2 separate regions of the Homo sapiens genome follow, and region 1 is linked to region 2. Evidence: promoter capture Hi-C in 16 types of primary human blood cells and fetal thymus (Javierre and others, 2016). All regions are on one chromosome and are shown on one strand. Each heading gives the region's core, a stretch centred on a gene start or on the middle of the fragment in contact. The rest is flanking DNA. Distances are from core to core; before and after follow the strand shown. Region 1 holds the start of MEGF10 (multiple EGF like domains 10). Region 2 holds the start of MARCHF3 (membrane associated ring-CH-type finger 3).

What was found. The method cuts DNA at HindIII sites, captures the fragments that hold promoters and counts their contacts. A CHiCAGO score of 5 or more calls a contact.
Region 1: a contact is called between the fragment with the promoter of MEGF10 here and the fragment with the promoter of MARCHF3 in region 2, in 15 of 17 cell types (M1 macrophages, M2 macrophages, endothelial precursors and 12 more). The highest score is 24.6, in M1 macrophages.

What each region holds. Positions count from the first base shown.
Region 1 is chr5:127,287,427-127,292,384 of GRCh38, reverse strand. It overlaps MEGF10 (multiple EGF like domains 10), which reads right to left and starts at 1,589. Exons shown (of 25, transcript NM_001256545.2): 1 at 1,329-1,589. LOC105379199 reads left to right here and starts at 1,649. Exons shown (of 4, transcript XR_007058921.1): 1 at 1,649-1,807. The HindIII fragment of the contact is 5,574 bases long and covers 1-4,958 here.
Region 2 is chr5:127,028,391-127,033,856 of GRCh38, reverse strand. MARCHF3 (membrane associated ring-CH-type finger 3) reads left to right here and starts at 3,299. Exons shown (of 5, transcript NM_178450.5): 1 at 3,299-3,507. It overlaps LOC105379163 (a long non-coding RNA gene), which reads right to left and starts at 2,514. Exons shown (of 2, transcript XR_007058920.1): 1 at 1-2,514. RefSeq lists an enhancer at 2,417-2,961 and a silencer at 2,958-3,337. The HindIII fragment of the contact is 7,560 bases long and covers 162-5,466 here.

The DNA.
Region 1 (4,958 bases), core at 340-2,839, 260 kb before region 2:
TGTTAGTCCTTCACATGCATTAACTTACTTAATCCCTTTAACAATTGTCTGATGTAAGTGCTATTATTATCATTTTGATTTTACATATGTGGATAAACAGATTAAGTAACTTACCCCAAAATCACAGAACTGAAAAGTGGCAGAGTTGTGAGCTGAACCCAGGCTGGCGGGTGCCCAGAGTTTACCAACTGAACTCTTTGAACTCTCAGTGGTAAAATTAAAAGTTCCCTGCAAGCTGACCTCTTGGAGCACTCGTGTCAGGAAGATGACATTTCTGGATAATATAAATTGGCCCCAGTATTTCTGTCCATAAGGAATGAAGCATTTTTATTTGGGAACCCTATACACAAAGTGAGACCCAGGATATAAAGGAGTAAGGCAAGAAGAACAAGAAGAAATGTCATTCTCTTCTGCCTTGGCACAGCATGGTTATCACAGCCTAAGAACAATAATAATGGCTAATTTTGGCTAATAAGATCTCCAACTTTGACTTTCTCCTAAATAATGTGGGTCCTTGCGTGAGGATATTTTCTAAAGAAGCAGCAAAGATATTGCCATCATTCATTTGCTCAGTGGTGTCACTAAGAAAAATACTTCCAGAAAGAAAATTAAGGCCAAAACACTTCCTTAAACCAGGCGTAAAAGTCCTCTAACAAGGAATTTAAAAGAAAAAGATCAACACCGGATTTATCTTTCTTAAGTAACTATCACTTGAAAAACCGTCCCTCCCAGCACTCCTTAAGGAGCCAAGCATACTGACAAGGCCCCTTTGGTCTAAGACTGCGACCTCACACCCCTACTGATCGCTGAGAACTCAGGAAAGGGGAGCATCCCGCCAGCCTAGAGCGTTATCTGCACAATCTGAATACCAAGGACGGGAGAAAGAGAAGTTTAGAAAACAGTGAAGATCCCAGAAAGGAAGTTCAACTGACCTAGAAGAAAGGGCCCAGCTGAAACTGCCTTTCAAGCTCAGTCCGATTCCCCACAAATCTCCCTACATCCAGCTATATCGCCCGGCAAAATGAAACAAACACAAGGTAAGGCAATACAAGGGCAGGAATTATGCAAAATAAAATGCGTAATGAGGATGTCTCTCCATCAAAAATACTCCAGGATTTTCCTACACAATCCCATGTAACAAAACCAAATGCAAACAACAATAAACCCTTAAGAAGCGCATGAACAACGCAGACTGAGCCCATCTCGCCCCACCTCACGCCGCACCCCGGTACCCTGGCTAAGGAAAATGTGACCCCCGCCCATGAGAAGCCTTCCGGCGTCCGGCCAAGGTCCAGGAGCCGCCGGAGTTGAGTTTGCCCAACTCTTACCCAGGTCCAGAGATCTTGAGAATCGCAGCGCAACCTTTTCTCCCCGGTCTTCACCCAAAGCCAGCCAAGACACAAAATCTGTTCCAATCAACGCGGTTAGCGTCCAAGCAGCGTCCCAGAAGAAAGCAATCTTTGGGAGTCTTCTTTCAGGCGTAAAGGTGGAGAAGCGGGAAAGAGGAACGTCTCAACGCGTTCCCAGTCGCCCAGTTTTGCGCACCGGGAAAGTACTTGCTGCAAACTTGAACAAGGTTTTCTCTGTCTGGCCCGAGATGCTGGAGGGGGTGGGGGCGGGTAACCCGAGCCGGGGCCGGGATTCGAGCAGTTGCCGCTGCTGCAGCTGCTGCTGCCGGGGCAGTGGCCGCTGGGGGGTTGTCGCTTGGCGCCGCGCGCAGTCCCTAGCGCAACATGCAGGATCTTCCCGGCCTGACTGCTGCACCTCGATCGTGAGTCGCCCCTGCCTGAGCGGCTTCCACCGCCTGGTGGGTGACCCCGCCAAAGGCCTGGTCGCGAAGTTAGCAAATGTTGGGGTCACCGCAGGGGGTGACCGAAGGGGTGTCAGAGTGGGTGCCCGCCTGATTCCCAACCCACGTTGGGTGCAAGTCCCTCGGCAGAGTCCCTGGGAGGTGTTCTAGACCCTCTGTAAGGATTTGTGGGACGGTGGCCGGCGCCCGAGCGGCCAACTGGAGTGGACGGCGGGTCCTCAGTGGTGTCAGGGGAGAAAGCGCAAAGGTGGGACCCAGAAAGGATGGTGATTAAGCCGTGCCAGAGAATGTGATGTGGCAGCAAAGTACATGGAAAGGTGGGGCGGGGAGGTGAAGGCAGAGGGTGGAGGGTGGGATAGTCTGCTTTACCATGGAGGGGCGGAGAGAGAACTCCCCGGACGCGCAGGAAAATCCCCCCAGGTCCTCGGAGGCCTCGCGCGGCAATTTATTGGGGAATGGCTCCCTCTGCCGACTCGCCGAGGAGGCCCCGGGAGGCCCAGTGATGGAATGTTAAAACCATGAACGGGCTTTTCCATTTGTGGGTTAGACAGGACATGAATTCTGGAATCTGCTTCTCTGACTGTCCATCTTCCTCTTCCAGACTAAAGAGTTTTCCAGCTTTTACAGGACCCCAAAAGATACAAATTTGACTGCTGCAAAGTTCTTTCTTGTGTCGTTGAATTCTATCCCCCTCTCCCCACAAAAAAACAAAAACAGGTTTAAGCCCCATAACCACTCCAGGTAACCATCTCCTACCAGGCTTCTCTTCCTCCCATTAATAAGAACTCTTTCTTTTTAGAGAGACTTCAAGAGCGTTCGAGTCCCTACTCAATAACGCTCCTGGAAAATAGTACAGACTCCATATTATGTTTGAGTGAATAAATGAATGGAATGAATGAACATAGATATGTTTGAAGCCCCTCACCATCCTCTTTACTCTCCCTGGAAATACACAGGGGAAGACTGTTTTGGTGTTTGTTTATTTGTTTGTTTAGCAGTCATCATTGCCCCTTCTCTGGTAACAGTACCTCCATTTTTCTTTGAGATACCATCCCTGCCACAAGGACAGCAGTCTGGGTGGAAGGTCAGTCAGGATGGTCCAGCTTTTCCCTGTCCAGAAGAGAGCAACTGACCTCAGCTAAGCCCCTCAGGCCCTCTCTGCCAGGAGTTGGAACTTTGATCTGGGCAGCACAGGCACAAATAATTCTAGAGGTGATTAATCCATATGGCTGTTTTCTAAGGAAATTGGCTGTTAGTTCATGCCACTTATTACCCAAAGATATTTTGCTTTATGAAACTTGGTTGCCCCACTTTCCTTTTAATTTTTTAATCAACTTTATTGGGGGATAAGTTACATTCCATATATTACACTCATATTAATTATACAGCTTCATGAGTTTTGAATAATGTACACACCCATGTAACCACTGCTTCAATCAAGATAATGAACAATTCCATCACCTCAGAGGGTTGTCTTGCACCCCTTTAAAGTCAACTTCTATCCCACCTCATATTTGGCCCGCTTAGCTGTTTTCTGTAACTACAGATTAGATTTGTCTTTTCTAACATTTCATATGAATGGAATCACTTACATATTCCTTTGTGTCTGACTTCCTTCACTCCACACAATGTTTTTGAAACTCATTAATGTTGTGCCTGTATCTGAAGTTTGTTCCTTTTTATTGCTGAGTAGTATTCCATTGTATGGATATACCACAATTTGTTTGCCAGTTTACCAAATGATGGACATTGGGGATGTTTTCAATATGGGGTTATTATGAATAAAGCTGCTAGGAACAATCTTTAACAAGTCCTTTTGTGGACATACATTATTATTTTTCTTATCTTACAGGAGTAAAATTATTATTACAGTAACTGTGTGTTTAACTATATAGAAAGATGAACTGCTTTCCAAAGTGGAAAACATTTTACATTCTCACCAGCAAGATATGATAATTGCTTCACATCCTCATCAACACTGGGTAGTTTCTGTCTTCTTATTTTTGCCATTCTAGTAAGTATATAGTGGTATCACATCGTGGTTTTAATTTGCGTTTCCTTACTGACTAATGATGGTGACCATAAAAGATGTTTACCAGCTTTTCATGTGCTCTCATGCCACCTGTTCTTTGATAAAGTGTCTGAATTTATTGCCCAATTTTTAATCAAGTCTTTGGATTCTTATTATTGAGTTGTAGGAGTTCTTTATATACCAGGCATTTGTTAGATATGTATATAACCAATATACACTCCCAGTCTGTTTCTTGTCTTTCAATTTCTTAATAGTGTCTTTCAAACAGCAGTTTTTAATTTTGATAAAGTCCAGTTTATCAAGCGTGTTTTTGTGTGTGTGTGTTGTACTTTTAGGTTTTACATAAGTAATCTTTGCTTACCCCAAGGTCATGAAGATTTTCTATGGCTTCTTATAGAAGTTTATAGTTTTAGCTGTTATATTTAGGTCTACAATCTATTTGATGTTAACCTTTGTGTATGGTATGAAGTAAGGGCTGAGGTTCATTATTGTCTACATGGATATCCAGTTGTTTTGGCACCATTTGTTGAGAAGATTATCTTTTTTCCCATTGAGTAACTGGATACCTTTATTGAAAATCAATTGGCCATAGATGAGTGAGTCTATTTCAGGATTCACTCATTATTCCTTTCATTTGATCTATATTTCTATTCCTATGCCAAAACCATACTGTTCAGATTGCTATAACTTTATAATAGGACTCCAACTTAGATGTAATAAGTCTTCCAACTGTGCTTTTATTTTTTTTCAAAATTTGTTCAACTCTTCAGCTTTTGTTTTTGTTTTTATTTGGTTTTCATCTTCCATGTAAATTTCAGAATTTGCTTGTCAATGTTTTAAAAATTCACTTTTCTAATTGAGAGTGCCTTGAATCCATTGATCAATTTAAGGAGAACTGACATAAAAATATCGATTCCTCTAACCTATGAACATTTATCTCTCCATTAATTTAGGTATTCTTTAATGTTTCTCAGCAATATTTTGTAGCTTTGAACATGGCAGTATTACACACAATTTAAAAAATGAATCCCTAAGTATTTTATTTTTAATATTTCATAAATGGAATTATTTTTGAGTTCTTGTTTCCAATTGTTCATTGCTAGTATGGAGAAATAC
Region 2 (5,466 bases), core at 2,050-4,549:
GACTGCCAGGAGCACCCACCACAGCAGCTGTTAAGATTAGAACCCATGGCTCCTACCAATCACATCCTATTGAAATTTAGGGGATTCTAAAATACTGTTTTAGTGTCATAAAGGAGTGACAGTGCCTGAAGACAATCTTACCATCCACAAAAGAACAAGCTTTGCTTCCATGGTCCCACCTGAATCTTCTCATTCCCAAGCCATTCCGTAAATTTCTTCATCTCTTTGAGTAAAAGAAATTTTCTTTCACAAAATAGATTGGGACTAAATAAGTGACTTCTGCGTTCAGATTTTGATGGTTCTCTGTTTGTTCCATACAGATAGTGTAAGCATGGGTTATTGGAGTAGTAAGAGATCTCATTTTCCCTTGTAGAATATGGGGATGGCCCAAACTCAAGAGATTGTTAGGGGCTCTTGTTGAAAATCAATTACAACAAAAGATGGTATGGAAATATGAATATAGTCCGAATATGCTGTCTTTTCCATGTCTTCTGGTCTACAAGGGAAAATGAGACCTATTACTTGTCCAAGAACCCATGGATGATCTTGTCTGTCTGAAACAAACAGAAAACCTTGGAAATCAGGACATGAAAGTCACCTAATTCTAACTTGTTTCATGACAGGACATTTCCTTTATTTCCATTTTTCATCACTTAATGTAAATACTAAAGTAAGTACAGTCATGACCTAGTGTTTGGCTCCTATTCCCGAAATGATTTTAAAAATAATAATCAGCATCTATGAAAACCTTCACAGGGTACTAATATGATAAGCACTGTTGGCAAATGTTTTCTCTAGTTATATCCTGAAGTGTGGTAGGAAAAAAAATCCAAGGAAGTATATTTCTTCCATGAGCATTTCCTGATAATTCTAGTCAAAGATGACGTTTCATGGCAGCCTCCGTGAAAGCAAACAGAAGAGCACAATTTTAAAAACACATCAAAGTGGAGTTCTGCTGGAATCAGGTTGGGAGTCAAGTCTTCTCTCTCTTTGGCCTTCTCTCCTGTAAGGCACCTCCAGCCATGTCCTTGCCCAATCCAGACCTGGGCAGAAACCTGGTGAATATTCCATTCATGTGGTCTACATCTAATACTTTATGGGCAAAGGCCATTCTCCTAGGCCAGTCAGCAGCATGCTAAGGAACCTCTGGAATTGAGTCAGATGGTCTTCCTTGCCTGTAGCAGTCCTTTGGTCCACAAGATAGAAAATAAAGAACTTAAGGCTGGGCGCAGTGGCTCACGCCTCTAATCCCAGCACTTTGGGAGGCCGAGGCGGGCGGATCACAAGGTCAGGAGATCGAGACCATCCTGATTAACACGGTGAAACCCCGTCTCTACTGAAAATACGAAAAATTAGCCGGGCGTAGTGGCGGGCGCCTGTAGTCCCAGCTACTTGGGAGGCTGAGGCAGGAGAATGGCGTGAACCCAGGAGGCGGAGCTTGCAGTGAGCCAAGCCATAGCACTCCAGCCTGGGCGACAGAGTGAGACTCTGCCTCAAAAAAAAAAGAAAAGAAAAGAAAGAACTTAAATATGGACAATGTTTGCATTACTGAGCAATTTTTCAGGGTCTGCAAAGGGCTATCCCTGCCCTAGTCTCCTGCCCTTCTGACAACCTTCCTATGGACCTTTTCCCATTGAGAAATGGAGCTGAGGAGACAGAATTGAAACTCAAACCAGGCCAGAGCTCACCTAAGAGGGGCCATTTCACTCCTTTTCAGCCACCAGCCCTTTACATTCCTTCTCCCTGGTGACCTCATCAGAACCTTCTCATGAGAGGTCAGCTATGATGCAAGACCTTATAGAGGCCAGATGGCATTGAAATAACACCTTGCAGCTCCCTTACATGTGAATAATTGCCCATACTGAGAGACTAAAACCCTTAGGACTTCTGGGACCTGAATGAGGCAATGGTCTGAAGTGGGCTTGCGCTGGAAGCAAGACGTAAGTGGTGAAGGTGAGTATCAGGGCAGCAGGTTGACCCCTTTCTTGTTATGAGCATGCATTCCTTCATTCTTACTAATACGGGTTAGGTGCCTACCCATGGCAAGAGCAGTTCTAGGCAGGGAGAGGCCCCTACCCACCCACAGCTGACGGTCTAGGGCTTGTTTACATTCTAGGTTTCAGCGGGAAAGCAAGAACACCCAACTCCCTGCTTTTGATTCTATGTTAGTAGCTCAGCGCGCCTGTGCGAGCACGTGCTGCAGCCAGGGTAGGGGCTCAGAAACTGGTTGACAAGATGAGCAGTGGGGTCCTAGGGGGTTGGGCGGGAAGGGCCCACAAGGCCATATTCCAGGCTGTTCGGCTGCGAGTGACCCCTGAGAGGTCGGGATCTCCGAGCTCGTCCGATGTCTCCATCCCAGCCAGGAGCTTGCGAAGGGGAAGGAGGGCGGAAGCAGAGTGGGACAGATGTGGTTCGTTCTGGGGCTTCCTGTCCACGAAGATGGATAATTCTAGCGACCCGCCTGGGATTTTGGAATCCTGGCGGACCCAAAAGACAGCAGAAGTCACCGCAGAGGATGCCACCCCGCACGGCAGCCCGCCCAGAGCGACGGTCTCACAGGTTCCGGCGCCGTCGAGCGCCCAAGCCTCCTGTTGGCCGCCAGCTGTGTCCGCGACGCGCTGGGTCGGGAGGAGGAGACCCGAGGCGCCGGTAAGTCCCCCGCTGCAGGTGGCCCGGAGGGCAGGGGTGAGGACGGGGACGTGTACTGAACTTTGGGAGGTTTGCGGGGCTGGAGTTTTGTTTCAGAGATAGCCAGATCGAGATCAGAACGTTTTCCAGAGAGCCCAGGTTTCCACTTGTGGCTGGGCGACCCGGTCCGGAATTCATCCTTTCTCGGCCCTCAGCTTCCTCCGGGCGGGGTTCCGATGGGGCAGCTAAGTTCCGCGCCTCCTGCCGGTGCCAGATACTGGCGTGTCGACCCGCGCTGCGGTTGGCTTCTTGCTCCACAGCGCTATGCGCGCGGCGGCTCCGAGGGCTCCTGGTCTCTCTCAGCCAACGGCCTTCTGGGGCCGCCGCCTCCCTCTAGAGCTGCTCGGGTCCCATTGCAGAGAGTCCCGCAGCGCCCGCCGGCAGCCACGGCACTTCGCAATAACCAACTTCCCCGCCGCCGGCGCGTCCCGCCAGCCTGCCCTCGGCCGCAGGCGACTGGACGGCGGTTACGGGGCGGTCCCAGCGCCACCACGACTGGCTGTCGGCTCCGCCAGTCATGGGCTGATGACGCCCCGGGGCTGGCTCCGCCCCTAGCGGCAGCCCCGCCTCCCCTCCAGAGCCTGGTCGGCTTAGCCCTGCTTTCCGCCTCACTCGTTGAGCAGGTCCGTGAATTGTCAGCGCGCTGTGGGCGACTGTGTGGCCGCGGCGGCCGCCAGGCTTGCCGCACTCCCCCTGAGGTGCCCGCCGGAACCAATGTGCCCTGGTCCACTGGGCCGTGAGCAGCCACCGACTGGGGGCAACTTGGCACTTAGAACCGCAGCAGGGACGTCGGTTTGCTATCGGGACTCGGCGAGGACGGTGAGTGGCCGCGCGCCGGGCTAGCGGCTCCTCTCGGCGCGGTTCGGCGGCGGCGAGAGGGGACGGGACGCGTCCTGGCGCTCGGCGGTCCGTTCGTCCGAGCGTGACCGCTGTGGGGAGGTCAGGGCTGGGCGGGATTTACTCCGTGCCAATATCCCCACTCCCGAACTTCTTCTTGTCAAAGCATCCCAACTCCGCCCGGGACGCGGTTCCAGTCCGCACCAACTTGGCGTAATTGACATGGGTAGGTGGGGCCGGGACGCGTCCCCTGCCCCTCTGCGGCAACGACATGGAGCGCTGGGGCGGCCTCCGCGCCCGCGGCGTGCGGACCGCGGTTCCTGAAAAATTACCCGCGCTGTGCGGTACGGTAAGACCCGGCGTCCGCGTCTGGATCTCAAGGCTGAGCGAGCGCTCATCGGGCTCAAGGTGGGTCTCAGCGCCAGAGAACTGGAGTACCAGCCGGGTTCTGTAGCGGGGGCTTCAGTGCTCTGCAGCTACTGAGAGGAATTGAGAGCACTGCTGGGCTTTGAACTTTCTAAAGTAATTGCTTTCTATTAGCACTTGAATCCATGACCCTCCTGAGGTGCTCGGACCTCCACATCCACCCGCAAGGGGTGTCCGAAGGACTTCGTTAGGACCAGGCGGGAGCTGCTGTCGGTTCTGGTGCCCAGTGCCTTGGAGAATCCTAGAGGCTGCGAAAGGGATTGCCAGCCTGGTCGGTTGGTGTTTGTTTGAGCACCTGCGTGTTTAAGTGATGAAGTTGAGTCAGGAATTGACAGCAGAGAACTCAAGGTTAAACCTGACACTCCGTTTGTGACTCGGTCTGGGTTAGATTGTTTTCCCCCCTTAATGGTAAGGGGGTAAAAGCAGCTTGTTTTTCTGAGACCAACTACATGCATGTAGTTTATATTATGTGCGGAATAAACAGAATTCAATACGATATTTTCTTACAATTCTTATTTGACATGAATAAGAGCTTTTGAAAATACTAGACAGAAACAGGTCCAGAATTTGGGGATGTTTAGACCTTTGAAAATACATGAAAATGTTGAGATATATAGTTCTGTATGTGTATATGAAGATGTAGATGCGCATATACACACATACATACGTGTATATGTGTGAGTGTGTGTATATATAAAATTAAAAGGTGAATGAGGTAAATATATGAAGGGGAAATTCAGCCTTGAACTTCCCTTGGGTCACAGAGATGGATCCTCTGAGCTGTGGGGTGTTAGTGAGTGTGTATGCGTAAGCATGTCTGCATCTGCCTGGTCTGTCTGGGTCAGAGTATGTCCATGAACTTTACGAGCGTTCAGTTCAATACCACTCAGTGCAGAATCCGCGTTCCTGTTTTACAGCCCAGCAGCCGCCAGCCGGCCCATCTGTTAAAACATAACATGTACACTTCAGTCCGACCACTGGGGTGGAGCCTGGGTAGGGGGCAACTCTTAGCAGAAACAACATGCTACAAACAAAGCCTGCCTCTCAAGTTCTATTTTCATTCAATATTTGGCCTGAACTTGAAGTTTTGGTGAGGGAGAAGGAAGTGTTTGTCTCTAGAAATGGCAAACTGCATTTTGTGAAATAATTATAGCCACGGCTTGGGGAGGGGGAGCTTGTAGGAGAGAAAAAAAAATCCCTCCAGAAATGTGGTGCTTGTCACATCACCATGCAACACGGGTTTACAGCTTTGCAGTATGGCATGTATATCAGAAACTGTTTGCTTTTGCTTGTTAAAATAATGCATTAAAACTGAATCATTTTGCACCAAAAAAAAAAAAAAACCTACCTTAATAGAAGTAAACAGAGCTTTATTGCAGAGGCTATAATTAAGACTGCCTTGGTATTTCTAATGAAACATACTTTTAGGAATTTATAACCTGGACATATATTCATAGTCAGTCTAATCACTAGTTGCAATGATTCACAATTTATAGTTTTAAAATAATAAAAAGG